Regions from separate parts of the Homo sapiens genome. Here all the other regions are linked to region 1. The links are contacts of gene promoters, found by promoter capture Hi-C in blood cells and fetal thymus (Javierre and others, 2016). All regions are on one chromosome and are shown on one strand. The core of a region is centred on a gene start or on the middle of the fragment in contact, and the rest is flanking DNA. Distances in the headings are between cores, read along the strand shown.

Region 1 (3,420 bases), core at 367-2,866:
ATTTATTTTTTGACTAAATGTGCAATTTCTTATCACTAGATAACTTTCAGTATCAGTGGTGGTTACTTATTACTTAAATCAGAGGAAGGATTTTATAAAGATTAATAAATTTAATTTTACCAATAAATATTCCCATAATTTAGAAAAGGATGTCGACTTGCTAATTTCAGAAATAATTATTCATTTTTAAAAAGCCCCTTTTAAAGCATCTACTTGAAGATTGGTATAATTTTCATAAAATGTCTTTTTTTTTAGTGTCCCAAAGATATCTTAGATAAACTATTTTGAAGTTCAGATTTCAGATGAGGCAACATTTTCTTGAGATAATTACCCAAGTTTCATCCATGTTGAATGGTACAAAATATTTCTGTGAAACTAACAGGAAGATATTTTCAGATAACTAGGATAACTTGTTGCTTTGTTACCCAGCCTAATTGAAGAGTGGCAGAGGCTACTACAAAAAGCAACCTTTTCATTTTCACTAAGAGTTTAAAAGCTATTGTATTATTAAAAAGTCTTTACAATGCTTGTTTCAAAGAACCAACAGAAAAAAAAGCTAAGAAAACTGAGAACTAACATTAAAAAAATTAAATTTAGAATAAGAATGATTTCTTTAATTTGTCCTTTTTTTCTTTGGTCTAAAACATTATTAAATTTTTGTAAATATTTTGATTTAATGTGTCTTAGATCCTCATTATTTTAATACAGGAAAAGAAAAGATTTAGTAATTTCTTACCATGCTAATATGTAAAGTTCATGCCATCCAGGCATTTAAGAGCGATCCTCATCCCTTCAGCAATATGTATTTGAGTTCACACTATTTCTGTTTTACAGCAGTTTTGAAAAACACATACTATGCCACCAATTGTCATATTATTTTTAGATGATGTAACATAGCCATCAAAATTAATATTATGTAATGCCTAATACTTAGTATGTAAATGTCACGAGATCATTTTTACATTAAACGTGAAAAAAAATCAACTTTGCCGGATCACTTATTTTATACAAGAGAATATATTCTGCCTTAGACCCAAACTCAGTGTTTTTTATTTTTTATGAGGAAATTTGGTAAAACATGGTTTAATATTAGCTATAGTTGTACATATTTGAGGCTTTTAGCCTTGGTTTAGTTGTTTCAATGTCCACACACTGGCTTCTTAAAACTGATTTCTTGCAGCTGAGATATTTAGATGAACTTCAGTTCCCAGTGGTTTTCTTGCTTTGTCTCTTATTTTTCTCTGGCATATTTTTTATAAAGCTTTCTTTAGGAAAAAGAAAATAATTACTGATGTAGCTAACTTGAATAGATGTTTATTTAACACTATTTTTAATGTGACTTAAATGTAAAGAATTCTAATCCTGGATTCTTTATGATTACAATACAGCAAAACTGCATTTTCCCTGGCTGATTCTTAAAGGGTAAACTATTCACCTATAAAGCCAACTTACGTGTTTTGTTGTAGAACTAGATTTATATATAACCCAAAGGTGTCAACAGCACTGAACGTCAACAACCTGTTACTTCGGCTTCTTATAAAGTCTCACTTAGAAGAAAGTTACTTAATTCTAGTTAAAATTTCAAGTTTTAAAAATTACTAGGGACAAACAAGTATTTATTTTTAAGCAGATACTATTCCTTAAGATATGAAGTATCTTGCCAGTTTTTCAAACCTAGTCCACATTTTATTGAATAATTAAATACAAACAAGTGATATGCAGTATAAAGTAAAAGAACAAAGTTTCTTTTATGACAATTAAGAAGTTAAACAACTTCATTTAGCCTGGCCACAATAACCGTTATATCCAACAGTAAACTGGACGTTGTTTTGAATTTGGTTTGTATTTGTTGGATGCCTTAAGGATTCATTATTATTGAGCTACTGTGATACCAATAAGGTTTTCAGTATTTGAGCTATAAAAGACAACCCCTTTTCATTAGAGGCCCCTTAACATTTTAAACGAAAATAACAAAGCTTATTCTGTTTCTAAATAGTCTTCCTCTTAATATTTAAATTACTTAGCTGGTATCCTGTGAATACAAGGCAACATCTTTTCAATGAAGGAAACAATTTCAGTACAATTTTGTGTTTTTGTTTGGAATATAGACCTTTTCTTAGTTTATTATATATAAACACATTTTCAAATACAAAATACTGTCTGAAATTAGTTACTGCAATTTGACATTCAAAGCATAGAATTTTCTTTGCAAATAAAGGTCATAAGAAATTAATAATTTTAATAGAGTGGAGTTCAAAAATTTCAGAAGGATGTAAATAAGCAACAATTTCTTTAACATTTGCTATATATACAAAGGACTTTGGTTCTATTCTTTGCCATATGCATCTTACAAACGAGTCACCATTGTCCCTTTTTAGCAGACACAATTGCGCTTCACTCCTACTGCAAACTTTTCTAGATCATGAGCAGTGCATTGGACACTAATTTATTTTAGCTGCGCAAACTCTGGTAGTTAATGACCCTTTCTCTTTCTCCAAAATTCCAAAGACTTCTTTTCAAAAGATATAGAGGAAAAGAGAAAAAAAACCATTAAGCTACAATTTCCTGCTGAATTTAAACTCTGGTCTAAAGACACTATGTAAATGGCTTATGCTAAAGAGGAAAATACCCTTTCTCCCCCGACGAGAAGTGTAGATTCATCCAACCCCACACCGCTTGTCTTTGCTGCTAGAGGCACAGCACGGGCATAACTTGTGGTTGTGTTTTTGCTAGTTTCTTACCTCTGGGCCTTCTTTATAGCTTTGCCCCCCACCCCACTGGCGGTGGCGCTCCCGCGGCTGCACCCTCGGCCGCCTGTTGGTTGCGGCGCCTCCGCGGCCCGCGCGCATCCCCCGCGCTGCGTCCCGCACACGCGCGCTCCCGCCGCGTCCCGCCCGGGCCGCTCCGCTGGCGGCGGCGACTGGGCTGCAGGTAGCGAGCCAGCCGGCCTCGGTCCGGTAACCCATGGCAACCGCCCTGGTAACCCATGGCAACTGCGCGGCGGAAAGAAAAAAAAGAACCGTGGTGGGGCGGGGGGCGGCGGGCGGTGAATGGGAACAACGACCGCAAAGAGACAGCGATTTACCGCGCGGGCCTGCGGCTCCCGGCCGCACCTGCTGCAGACGGCCCGCGAGGCCCCTTCCCGCGCTACGGTGACGATTCTGGCTGCTGGGGAAAAGAGCAATAAGCAGAAAGCCCTCGTGCAGAGGGGATCCGGGCGGTGCACTTGGTGTGGGAGGCTGCCTTAAACGCCGATGACCCTCCCGGCCTCCGCGTGTCCCGGCTTCCAGGGCCCCGCCAGGCTGGAGAGCGCGCGTGGAGAGGGCCTTGCCGCCTGGGGGTTGGTTGAGGGGCGGCCGCGCCGGGGCCGGGGCTGGACTCCAGGCTTTGTTCTGCAGACGCTCGCGCCCGGCCGGAGGA
Region 2 (3,315 bases), core at 22-2,521, 730 kb after region 1:
CAGTTCTCAGGCGCCGCGATCCCCCGCCGCTGCCATCGGCGATTTCCAGGGATTCTGCGGAAAGGGAAACCAACAAGAGACACACGCACAGTTGGAGGTGGAGGGGTCCGAGCGGGGTTATTCCACTGGAGAATAAATATAGCAGAAAAGATCAACTGCAACAAAATGGCCGCCCCTGGATGCAGTAGAGCTATTGTGCTGCCTTTCCTGGGAGCCCAGCCTGGGCAGACCCCGTCTCCTCCATCTCTATCGAATTCATGCCTGTGGCTCCCCCCAACCTCTTCATCCGGGAGCAAACTTTATATTAGCCACAACACAATTTATAATTAATGCGTCAGCTGCTTAGCTGAGCAAGAGCGATCTATCACTCTTCATTACTGTCAAAAAGCCAAACTCTAGGACAACTAGACAGGAGGAGGTCAGTTCCAACTCAAATAAATCATCCCACATTACACAAGTTCGGGAAAGTTTCCCCCCACTTCCTAAAAATATATATGTCTCATTGTAGAGCGCAGGATCCCCTTTCCTCTCCATCAAACCCACTCCTGAACCCACAGGGGCAGGGACAAGGCAACCAAGCATCTCTCCCTCTCCTCCTTCTCTCCCAGCCCACTCTCCCCTCCCCCCACAGCCACTCTCGGGGCAGCCCGGAGAAGGAAGAGGGTCCCAGAGACCTGGGGCCAAGTCTTTGGACTGACCTTTGTGGCTGAGGCAAGCAGGGCCGGTGGCTGCGGCGGTGGCGGCGGCGGCGGCGGCCGGCAGAAGTGCGGTTTTCTTGGCCGCCTTCTTCTCCTTCATCCAGGGGTACTCGGGCGGCTGCAGGGCGCCGGCGGGCACCGGGCTGCCGCGGCTGCCCGCGGGGCTCGGCTTGGGGCGGCCGCCAGCGCCGTGGCGAGGGTGACTGCCGGGGTTCAGGCTGGGAATGGTCTGCTCAAAAGGAGGAGGAATCAGTGTCGAGTGTGAAAGCGTCGAGGTCTTGATTGATGAACTTTGAAATGTATCAGCGACAGGGGGAAAAGATGTCAGGCACTCAGCGAGCGACGGCTGGCTATTGATAAAACCAATCTCTCGCTCAAATTCGTAATTCATGGCCTTCTCCTTGGAGCCCCCTCAGAGAAAAAGTTCCCTCTTTTGGAGGGGCTTTGGGGGGGCAAGGCCTAGGAAAAAGGCGAGCGCAGAGGAAAAAAAATCTATCATAGAATATCGCTGCTAGGGTGTTTTTTTTCTAATTCACTGATTACAGCCGTATGGGGACCGCGCTACTATTAAACTATTGAATTCATGGAGACAAGGTTGAAATTGGACCGAATTGGCTGTCACATGATTGCTTCTGCCCAATGACAATTTGGGCTTTAATCAAAAGAAGCCACTGTCTGTTTGATTGATCCAAAAAAGTCGGGAAGGAACGCCTCATTGGGGGCCAGCGAGGCTTTATTTACACTTTTTTCAGAGCAAAAATACATATATGTTGGTGTGGGTGGGGATGTCCCGGAGTACGTGGGGGCGAGGGTGCCTGCGTGCCTCCTGATCTGCAAGGATCTATCTAGTGTGTGTGCCTGGGAGTGTGTGTGTGTGTGTGTGAATGTGCGCGAGTGTAAGCCCTGCTGTCGGTCCCGCCGGTGGCTGCCCTCTGCCTCCCCCGCACACTCCGCGCATTGTTTGGGACTGTCGGGAAGACGCCTCGCACCTCACAAATCATTTAAGCACCTCAGTCTGACGCCTGCAGTCATTAACAAAGTAATCCATTAATCTTCAAAGTTTTGACACCCGAGGGCCCTGCGTCCCAGCCACATAAGTTCTGTTAAAGCAGGAGAAAGGAGCAGAGGAAGAGAGGAGATGAGAGAGGGAGAATAAAGAGAGAGGGAAGAAGAGAGAGTTTGAGAGATGGAGAAAGAGAAGACAGAAAAGAGAGAAGAAAGGAAAGATTTTGGTTGGGAAGGGGTCTTCCTTTTCTTTCCCTTTTCCTCCTTCACTTTTCCTAAAAGCAGTTCCTGGATCTCAAAACTGATCTCTCTCGGTCTGTTTTCCTTCCTGTCTGTCCCTTTCCCTCTTTTTCCTCTTCTCCCCCTTTCTCCCTCCCTCTCTCTTCTGTCCGCCTCCCCTTCTCCCCTCAGCCTCTCGCCCCCCTCCCAGTGTCCAGCCCAGAGTCTGCGCCCCGGGCCCATTGTTAGCAGGCTATTCCACGGCAGCTTTGCATCTGGCTCCGGCGGGAAGCGGAAAACGGGAGGCGGCTCTCGAAGCTTCCCGACCTTCCTGCGCCATCAACTTCTCAGGAGTGGCTGGAGAAAGATGCATGTGCCAAGCGAGACAACAACCCCAGGTCCATGTGTCCAAATCCCCGTAGCCAGGGCGGCGGCCAGCCAAAGAAATGCCGCCCCGAGCAGGCGCGTGCGGCTCCTGGCATTCTGGGTTTCATACCCGTAGGGCTCGGGTGCGGTGAGTATTTCCGATTTCCAGGAAGTCTGTTGGAAGTTACCAGCAGGGAAAGAGAAGATGCTTGCTCCTCTCTTTCCCTCCCTCTCTCTTTTTTTTCTACCCTTCTTCTTGTCCTTGTCGCTCTGGTTGGGGGCTGGTTGGTTTAGATACAGCGAGTGCTCCCTGGCAGCCTGAACTGCCTCCCACACCTTCCTGATCCTTGGGCACCGGGGATGTTTGCTTCCGGGTTCTGTTGTGGGAAACAGCACTGCGGGGGAGAGGAGGCGACCCAAGGAGGAATTATAAAGGTTTTCGTTCTCCTTCATTATCTTTTTTCCAATTCGGAGACTTGAGACTGAGCGCATCTTGGACAGTGCTAGAGGGTTCAAAAGATAACACCTTTAGGTACCAAAAAATAATTTTTAAAAAATCCACCAAGCCAGAAAGAGGTGAGGAGGCTGAGAGGTAGATCTGGAGGTACCTCTTTCCCCCCCAAACCCTGAGGATGGTGATTCGCTTTTGCTTCCTTTGAAATAGACTAACTGATCAGACTCCCCCAGGCCGGCAGGCATCAATGGCAGGAAAATAAATCATTCTGATGGTCAGGGAGAGAGAGGTTGGAGGGGGAGAAAAATCTACGTAGAAAACAAGAAAGGCCAACCAAGGAGCAAAGGCAGGACCCCATCTCTGAGGCCAGCGTCAAAGAGGGTTTGGGGTGGAAATTAGACATAAGTGGCCTATATCATTGACCAGCCCAGAGCATTGCCTTGCAGATAGAGATGCTATTTTGGAAAATGTGAGGTTTTTTAGTTTTCTTGCTTTTATTCCAAACAAAGCTCCAAAGGAAGTCTGGGCGCGATCAATCTTGCTCACCAAAAGCCTTGACAGCTTCTAGCCCTT
Region 3 (3,339 bases), core at 109-2,608, 870 kb after region 1:
TTCTTCCCTGGGAGAGGAGCCAAGAGAGGCCTATGGCAGCTTCCAGATATTAAGTTCCACAACCCCTGCCCCCACCTCCAGCCCTTCATCAGAGTCCCTACTTACTTGCTGTTTTAGGGCATTTTCAGCGACTTCACTCTCTTCTACCTCAAACGCCATCCACTTTTGGAGACAGGTACCACTGCCCCTAGGCAGGGACTTGGGAGAGGACCTTATGAGTCAAACCTCTATGAACCCCAACCTTTTTGTACTCGGGGAGGCTGAACCCCTGCCCAAAATAGCGCGGTGAAAGCTACTGCCTTCTCCCAAGTAGGGGCCTCCAGTACTGCCACAGCAGGGGCCGCATTCCTGGCGCCTCTTCATTCGAAAAACCTCTTTCCAGGAGACTTCGCTGATTCTGAACGAATACTTTAAAATATGGGCAAGGGAAAAAAAAAGACAACTCTTAGAAACTCTCCCCACCCAACATACCTGGAGTGCAGGCGAGGTCCAGGCAAACGGGAAAGCGACTTCTTGTACGAATAGCCATCTCAAGATGAAGCCAGGCTGTGGAAAACTTAAGGCCATCTAGATGGGAAGGAGGTATTTAAAAGAAATCAGCACACACTCTTACAGAAGCCAAGGCGGGTCTTTAAATTAAAAAATAATAATAAGGTATTTATTTCTTGCCCCTTAGGGAAGAAAAATAGCAAAGTTTGGTTCGCAGGAGTAAGGAGACAGAGGTGGGTAGGGAGAGGGAGGAGAAAAGAGGAAAAGATGGCCCAGCCTCAAGCTCTCCAGTCAACTTGGGGCGGGGGAATACATTTTTCCGTAGCTTGTAAAAAGACTTTTCAGCCAGTTTGAGGTTAGCTGCCAGGGGCAGACAGTTGTAATAATGCCGACAGAATTGAGGCTTGTAAGCCGGGCTTCACACTTCTAAAATGCAGTTATGGATTCTTTCATCGGTGTTAGATCAAGGCACCAAGTTAAGAAAACAAAAGTCAAAACAACAATAAAAGAAAAAATCAAAAGCTTATTTAATTACCGAGTCCCGCTGCCCCTGCGGAACTCGCCGCGCGCGTTAAGCTCTCTTTTCTTTCTGCGGAATTCCATTTGCATCCCCTCTGCCTGGGTGTCTCCCTCTCTCAGTGTGTGTGTCTCTCTGTCTGTTTTCACACTCTCCTCCCCAATCGAGCGAGGCCCACACCTGGCGCATCACTGCCGAGCCATTAGCTGCGGGTTTCCTTTCATCTTCGCTGTGGCAGACGTTTCTATTTATCCACTTGCGCTCGCCGAGTGGCGTCACCAGCGGTACTGTAATGACGATTGCAGCAGGAGGATGACAGCTTAGAAAGAAGAGGGCAATGGGGCTTCCTCCCAGAGGCGGTGCGGCACAGAGGAGCGCTCGCTTCACAAGGTGACCCTAGCTCCCACCGCCACCGCCGCGGTCGCGGTCCAGACCGCGCTCCAGCAGCTCCGCGCCCTCCCAGGCACCCGGCCTTTCTTTCTCCCTCTTGCAACCAAGATCCGTCCGGCCGCTGGAGACCCAGGGAGCCGGGGTTAGGAACTCACTTGGGGCTTTCCCCTCCCCCACCGGAGAGCCCCGGGATGGAGAGCCGAAAGGACATGGTTGTGTTTCTGGATGGGGGTCAGCTTGGCACTCTGGTTGGCAAGAGAGTCTCAAATTTGTCCGAAGCCGTGGGCAGCCCGCTGCCGGAGCCGCCCGAGAAAATGGTGCCCCGTGGTTGCCTGAGCCCTCGGGCCGTCCCTCCGGCCACCCGGGAGCGCGGCGGGGGAGGCCCGGAGGAGGAGCCGGTAGATGGACTCGCAGGCAGCGCGGCGGGGCCGGGCGCCGAGCCCCAGGTAGCTGGGGCGGCCATGCTCGGCCCAGGACCCCCGGCCCCCTCAGTCGACAGCCTCTCCGGACAGGGGCAACCCAGTAGCTCGGACACCGAGTCGGATTTCTATGAAGAAATCGAGGTGAGCTGCACCCCGGACTGCGCCACCGGGAACGCCGAGTACCAGCACAGCAAAGGTAGCCACCGTGCCCCTCCGCTCCCCGGGCCTCCCACTGCGCCCACCCTTCACTTCGGCGCAGGCCAGGAGGAAGACACTCCCTTCCCCTAGGGCAGGATGGCTGGGGGGACCCACCTGAGCAACTCTCTCTGCTATCTGCGTTCTGGCGGGGGTCTCCTACTGTGTTCTGGCATTGGCGGGACTGAGGGTGACAGCAGTGCCTTGAGTGCGGGGTGCTGAGGGGGCGGATGCAAGTCCTGGACTTGGGGGATTCGAAGCTCACCCCAAGCACCCAGTGTTTCAACTGCTCGGGGAATGCTTCAATTGCTCGGGGAAGACACTTTCCCCAGGCGAGGGCAAGATCAAACGCCGATCCGGGCAGTTTGTGGCTGGCAGGGTGTAAGAGGCATGGAGGCGCGGAAGCCAGGAGTCCATAAAGGACCGTAAAATTGCGGCCCACTTGGGCAGCCCGGGTGCTGCAGCCCTCCGACCAGTTTGCACGTCGGTCAGAGGTCCAAATTACCTTGTCACTTCCCGGGCTTCGCGGCGCCAGGTCGGAAATGGTCCCAATGGTCTAATTGCCTTTGGTCTCCGGTTGCATTTGAAAAGGCAGAGATCGGGTCCTCCCCCCTTCCCCTTTCCTTCCTAGTCCCACTTCTCCACCCAAAGGAAAAGGAGCTGCAGGGGGCTGGAGCCCCACCCTTCTCAGAGGTAGGCCCAAAGGGGGGCTGGTTTAACTGGAGAACCCCTCCCCACCAAAGGCTAATGGGAAAGGGGTGGATAGCCCGGAAGGGAGTTTCCCTCTGTGCCAACAATCACCTCCCCAGAAGGGGGTAGAAAACTGGGCGCGGGTTGGTGGGGGGGAGGAGAGGGGAGCCCACCAGCAGACACTCCTCCACAGAACTGTAGGAGTGGGTGGAAAGAGCCTGGGGGCGGGGGGGAGAAAGACCACCCCCTGGTCTTGGCAGCCAACGCCTTGTTGAATACCTGCACCTACCCCTTACTATCTTATCACCGATTTCACCCAGCCTCCTTCCCATAACCCTCAGAACAACCTGGACTCCACTCACATATACTAAGGTAATAAATAAGATACTCAACATGCATTCTCACTCCAGCCCTGCAATACACGGAACCTAGTACACATTCCCACACCTGTTCTGGCAGCCCGTCACACATAAGAGCAAGGAAACTCTCTGAATGCCCAGCATACTACAATGCACTTGACCCAGAGTTTACAACCCTCTAGCACAAAGGTGCATCTCAACTCATGTGCCTGTCAGAAGTGCACGCCCTGCCAACGGGAGGCAGAAATCTCACCTATGCTCCAGGGCAGGTGGGAAG

Evidence for each region. Contacts are between HindIII fragments. The CHiCAGO score rates a contact against its expected background, and 5 or more counts as called.
Region 2: the fragment with the promoter of HOXA2 here is called in contact with a fragment that was not itself captured in region 1 in 6 of 17 cell types (total B cells, naive B cells, fetal thymus and 3 more); the score reaches 13.3 in total B cells.
Region 3: a contact is called between the fragment with the promoter of EVX1 here and a fragment that was not itself captured in region 1, in 2 of 17 cell types (naive B cells and total B cells). The highest score is 27.9, in naive B cells.

The regions. Positions count from the first base shown.
Region 1 is chr7:26,373,346-26,376,765 of GRCh38, forward strand. SNX10 (sorting nexin 10) reads left to right here. Exons shown (of 7, transcript NM_013322.3): 7 at 1-1,038. The region is part of intron 1 of SNX10-AS1 (SNX10 antisense RNA 1); the gene reads right to left. Among named protein-coding and RNA genes, the nearest start is that of LINC02981, 24 kb to the right of the region's middle. RefSeq lists a silencer at 3,335-3,420. The HindIII fragment of the contact is 715 bases long and covers 1,260-1,974 here.
Region 2 is chr7:27,101,412-27,104,726 of GRCh38, forward strand. It overlaps HOXA2 (homeobox A2), which reads right to left and starts at 1,272. Exons shown (of 2, transcript NM_006735.4): 1 at 699-1,272; 2 at 1-54. The coding sequence starts at 1,089. RefSeq lists an enhancer at 1,107-1,946. The HindIII fragment of the contact is 6,069 bases long and covers 1-2,238 here.
Region 3 is chr7:27,241,444-27,244,782 of GRCh38, forward strand. EVX1 (even-skipped homeobox 1) reads left to right here and starts at 1,359. Exons shown (of 3, transcript NM_001989.5): 1 at 1,359-2,014. The coding sequence starts at 1,588. It overlaps EVX1-AS (EVX1 antisense RNA), which reads right to left. Exons shown (of 4, transcript NR_120507.1): 2 at 472-567; 3 at 106-198; 4 at 1-7. RefSeq lists an enhancer at 977-1,854. The HindIII fragment of the contact is 5,233 bases long and covers 1,010-3,339 here.